Regions from separate parts of the Homo sapiens genome. Here region 1 is linked to region 2. The links are contacts of gene promoters, found by promoter capture Hi-C in human tissues and cell types (Jung and others, 2019). All regions are on one chromosome and are shown on one strand. The core of a region is centred on a gene start or on the middle of the fragment in contact, and the rest is flanking DNA. Distances in the headings are between cores, read along the strand shown.

Region 1 (2,700 bases), core at 201-2,700, 54 kb after region 2:
TCAACCCAGATCTCAAGGACTTGAAATTCCTTACCCACGATTCTCCCCCGACCCCTGCAAGATTTTTCCCCAAGCCACGCAATCCCGTGATTTGGGGGTCTCAACTTGGGACCCTTAGCCTTTATCAACCAGAGACCTCTACATCCCTGAATACCCGGGATCTTTTTAACTATGAAGGTTGAGACCCCTCAACATTCTCCCCTACAAACTAATCAAGACATAAAACTCCACTTTCCTTCACCAGAATTCTTCTAACCTTGCAACTCTGCTCCACCTGAATAAAGACTCTGGAGTCTGAGACAACCCTCACTCCTCCCCGCTCCACCCCGCACTCCCAGCCTCCAGATCCCCCCTCCTTCCCCCCCAACCTCTTGGAGGCCTCCGAGATCCGGAGTCAGGGAACGCTCTGGCCAGCTTTTCCTCCCATCCCCCGCCTGGCGGCTCAGGGGTTTGACCGCGAGCTGCCTGGTCCCCTCGCAGCCCTGTGGGCTCGGAAACGGGCACCATCACCCTGGCCACCCTGGCTGCCTCCATCCCAGGTAGCCGATCTCAGCTTCCCCCTTTCGCCCCTCTGACTCTCAGCTGGGACCTCGTCCCTTCTCCACATTCTCGCACCCCGTTTTAAAACCCAACCTTGCTCCAATTCCTCCTCCCTCTCACTGGCCCGCCCAGATCTCCTTATTCCTCCAGCCTTTCCTCCTTTGGGACCCTCCCCCCAGGCCTGAAGCCTCCTCTTCTCCCTCTTTCTCCCACCCTTTCCCGGATTCAGGCATTTGAATCTCCGGGGTCCCCTTCTGCAAGTCTTAAGCCCAAACTCCATCTCTCCTCCATCTCTCGGGAGACCGTAACTCCCCCTTTCTGGGACCCCTTTCCAGACCCACATCCTGCTCTGGCCGGGCCTGGGTCCTCCGCCCTCGCCCCGTACCTCGCCTTCCTCAGGGACCCGGCCTCTGCCCTCCCCAGCCCACGCTCGCTGCGACTCGGACGCGAGGAGTGCAGTTTCCCACTCCGGGACCCTCGGACCCCGTCCTCCGGGATCGCCAGGCCCAGGTGTCCCTGCATCCCCCATAGCCGCTCGAATTCGGGCGTCCCGACCGCCAGGATCTCACCACCCCTGGAGCCACTCGGGTCCCTTGTTGCCCCAAACCCGGCTCGCAGCCACCTCGAGGGGCGCCCCTTCTTCCTCCCAGGACCCTCCGCTAGCGCTCACCTCGCTCAGGGCTGGGCGGACGCTCCGGGCCGCGGGCCCCGCAGCCGCATGACCGGCCCCGAGGCTTCCCCCGGCCGCCGCCGCCGCCACCGGGGTCGCCGGTGCCCGCGCCCCCCGCCCCCGCCCCGGAGCCCGGCGTCCCGGCCCCCTCCCGGCCTCCCACCCCCCACCCCCCGCGGCCGCGGCCTCACTCGGCGGACGGAGCCGGGAGCAGGAACCGGCGGCCGCTCATTGGCTACTGCGGAGGAGGGGAGGGGCGGGGAGGGAAGGGGGGAAGGATGCAGCGAGGGAGGGAGATGGGCCTTGAGGATGGGGGAGGCAGAGAGGGAGAGAGAATAGAAACAGAGGCAGAGAGCCCGAGAGGGGCAGAGGCACAAAGAGAGACAGGGCAGAGAGAGAAAGTCACGCCGAGACCTTGAGGCCGAGAAATCCAGGGACTCAGGTCTGGAGACTGAAGGAGACACAGAGACAGAGAGAGACAAAGAGGGAGAGAGACAGAGTTTAAGACCACCCCTCACCACCTAGGCGCAGAGATTCTGAGGCCTGGGAAGTGGAGAGGTCAGAGACCAGGAAGAGACAGAAAGAGACAGGGGGACGCCCAGAGGCCTGGGGCTGAGAGATGCTGAGACCCAGAGACCTTGAGCTTGGAGAAGAGACAGAGACAGAGGCAGAGAGAGAGAGACAGAGAGACAGAGAGAGACAGAGAGAGACTCTGAGAAGGAGAGACAGCAGGGACAATCCTGGGGGTCCCCTGACGAGGACTGGGGCTCTAGCCAGGCCTGGGGCGGAGCCTGGGGTCTGGACGGCTGCAGGAAGCGGGAGGGGGCGTCCCGGGCCGGGGTCCCTACAGCAGCGGGCGGGCGCAGAGCGGAGTCGGGTCCTGCAGCCGCCGCGGAGCCAGGAGCCGGGCCACCCCCCCCCCCCGCCGTGATGTCAGCGGGGCCACTCTTAAAGGGGCAGGCCGCCCGCCGAGGGTCGGAGCGGGGGCTGGGGCCTGCGGGCACTGGATGGGGGTGTCGCGGCGGTGATGAGGGAGAGAGGGGCAGCCCCAGCATCCACCCGGACCGGGTCATGGAAACCCAGGAGACTGCAGGGAAGAAGACGTGCCCGGGTCCGCAAGGAAGACTGCGAAGCTTTGGGGCTCAGTCCCCTCCAAACACACAGACAAGGCACACCGCTCCACTGGTCTGGCCCTGACCGGAGACTACATTTCCCATCAGCCCTGGCGGCAAGGAGCCGCACTTGGGGGAAGGGTCTGCCGCGAGGCCTGCGGGGAAATGTAGTCCATCTGCACGGTCCCCGGCACTCCCCAGACTCTCAAGTGGGTCAAGGGAAAGAGGCCCAGAAGGCGCGTCTGCCTGCCGTGTGCCTCCGTCGCCGATTCCTAGGCTCTCGGGTTCTGGCTGTTTTTGGTTGCTCTGGCGTGGGGGTCTCTTCCTCTGATCAGGTCTCTAGGTCTCTCAAGAAGAGGCCAGACTGTGATCTCCCCG
Region 2 (2,700 bases), core at 1-2,500:
ACGGGGCACGAGGGAGAGGAAATGAAGGGGCAGGTGGAGCGGAGGAGCAGGGTCAAGATGAACTGACGGGAAAGAGGGAGAAAGAGGCTGCTGGGTGCAGTGGCTCATGCCCTTCATCCCAGCACTTTGGAGGCCAAGGCAGGAGGATCTCTTGAGCTCAGGAGCTCGAGACCAGCCTGGGCAACAGGAGACCTCATCTCTACAAATAATAAAAAAAATTAGCTGGGCACAGTGGCTCATGCCTGTGGTCCCAGCTACTCAGGAGGCAGAGGTGGGAGGATGGCTTGAGCCTAGGGATTCGAGGCTGCAGTGAGCTGTGATTGTGCCACCGTACTCCAGCCTGGGCGACAGAGTGAGACCTTGTCAAAAAAAAAAAAAAAAAGAGAAAAGGCACAGGGCAGAGTGGAAGAAATGAAACAGGAGGAGCCCCAGGTACTGGAGAGAGGGAAGATGCAGGGGTGTGATGGGGCAGCGCAGGAGACACGGACTAGGGAAAGATAGGATAAGGGGGTTCAGCGGAGAGGCAGAGGGGCTGCAGAGGGAGCATGCCGAGGAATTCCGCAGGGTGCCAGGACGCAGGGAGGAGTGGGAAGGAGGGGAGAGGAGGTCAGGGGCGCGAGTGGGAAGGCGCAGAAGCCCCTCTGGCAGAGGAGGAGGGGTGCCCAAGGGGGCCCCAGGATCAGGGACAGGCAGCCCCGGGAGGCTCAGGGTCTCTCGGAGGGGAGCGGCGGGGGCTGCGGGGAGGGCCGCCCGCACCCTACCTTCCAGGCAGCAGATCCTCCAGAGGCCCGAGTGCGTGAGGCCGCCGGGGTCCTTCTTCTCCGAGGCGCCGCCGCCCCCGCGGTGGGGGGTCCCGTCGTCGCCGCCGGCCGTGAGGTTGGTGGTGTTGCAGATGAGGGCGCGCGTGTAGAGCCAGTAGTCAGTGCTGATGGCGATGGTCATGAGGCCGAAGGCGGCGAAGGCGCCCACCGTCGTCAGCAGCACCTGCACCCCCTTCTCGCACCAGAGGCCCCGCTCTTCGTTCCAGCGCTTCAGCGACTCCAGTTTGACCACGGGCAGCCGGGGGGCCGTGGGCCACCACCGGGGCAGCGGGGGCGGGGCCGTGCCGGCGGCTGGGGGGGGGTTCACAGCGCAGGCAGAAGCGGGGGGCCCGGGGCCGGCGGGGCTGGGGAGGGGGGCGGCGAGGAGGAGGCTGCGGCCGGGGAGGGGGTCAGAGCGCGGCCATGGTCGGCGGCTGGTGGAGGGCAAGGAGCGAGATCTCGCATTAGAGGAGAAGAAGGCACAGGTACCTCCCCCAGTCCCCGCCCCCCCCCCCCCAAAATCCCTGCCTCAGCTCCAGAAACTCCTTCCACTCGGGGCTCCACTGCTTCTCTTTCTCAAAAATAATAATAATAATAATAATAATAATAATAATTAATAAATAAGATGAAATCTCTCTCCACTCTTGTCTTCTGCCCAAGAAAGTCATCCCACCATCCCACTAACCCCACTCGGAGGAGTCCCCACCACCGCTAATAATTAATAAATAAGATGAAATCTCTCTCCACTCCTGTCTTCTGCCCAAGAAAGTCGTCCCACCATCCCACTAACCCCACTCGGAGGAGTCCCCACCACCGCTAATAATTAATAAATAAGATGAAATCTCTCTCCACTCCTGTCTTCTGCCCAAGAAAGTCGTCCCACCATCCCACTAACCCCACTCGGAGGAGTCCCCACCACCGCTAATAATTAATAAATAAGATGAAATCTCTCTCCACTCCTGTCTTCTGCCCAAGAAAGTCGTCCCACCATCCCACTAACCCCACTCGGAGGAGTCCCCACCACCGCTCACACTCACAGCCCTCGCCCCTAGCCCGCGCCGCCTCCGCCCCAGGGGGCTCCACGATCCTCATCGCATGGGAAGCCACCCCCCGCCATGATGCCAAGCCCCACGCCGCCGCCTCCTCCCCAGGAGCCCCCGTCGCGTTCTTCCTTCCTTAGCGACCCCCGCCCCATCACCATGCGGCGCCCACCAGCTCTCCCCACTCTTCCCCTGCAAGCCCCACCTCTCCACCCGCTAGAACCCTTCCCTGTCAGCCCAACTTTTCCCTGAGCGTCTCCACAACTTAAGAAGCCCGAGTAGCACCACTTCCGTGGGAGTAACCTCCGCGAGCCCCCTCCGGTCTGGCTTTTGTCATTCCATCACTCCAAATGGTCCCCCACAGTTTCCTCTCCTTAGGAAAAAATAAATCTCTCAACCTCTCTTCAACTAAAAAGGAAAAATTAAAAGAAGAAGAAAAAGAAAAAGAAAATCCCAGCTGACCCTCACAGTTTGTGCAACTCGGAATCACCAGCCACCCTCAGTCAGCCTCCTCTCCCTGGAAGCCCCCTTCCTGCCTCGGGCAGCCTCCAACACACCTGGAAATCACCCGAGGACCTTAAAAATTCGGATGTTTGAGTCCCACCTGAGAAAGTCCGACATGGTTGGTCTGCAGTGTGGCCTGCGCATGTAAGTTTTTAAAAGCTCCCTGGGGAATTCTAATGCACCCAACATCAGACCCACTGGTTTGCAAGCTGCCCCCCCCCCGCCATCTCCAGCCCATTCCCTGTCACAGCCCCCACTGTCTCCCCACAAGCCACTCACTCCCCACCCCATACTATGCCTTTACTCCAGGAAAACCCCCACCCTCTCTTTTGCTTTAGAAGAGTTTTCTGAATCTT

The links. Contacts are between HindIII fragments. The study calls those that stand out against the background at their distance.
Region 1: a contact is called between the fragment with the promoter of CACNG7 here and the fragment with the promoter of CACNG8 in region 2, in 1 of the 25 tissues and cell types used here (dorsolateral prefrontal cortex).

The regions. Positions count from the first base shown.
Region 1 is chr19:53,908,028-53,910,727 of GRCh38, reverse strand. CACNG7 (calcium voltage-gated channel auxiliary subunit gamma 7) reads right to left here and starts at 1,450. Exons shown (of 6, transcript NM_031896.5): 1 at 1,211-1,450. The HindIII fragment of the contact is 9,573 bases long and covers 1-2,698 here.
Region 2 is chr19:53,961,487-53,964,186 of GRCh38, reverse strand. CACNG8 (calcium voltage-gated channel auxiliary subunit gamma 8) reads right to left here and starts at 1,250. Exons shown (of 4, transcript NM_031895.6): 1 at 762-1,250. The coding sequence starts at 1,044. RefSeq lists an enhancer at 1,889-2,409. The HindIII fragment of the contact is 7,710 bases long and covers 1-2,700 here.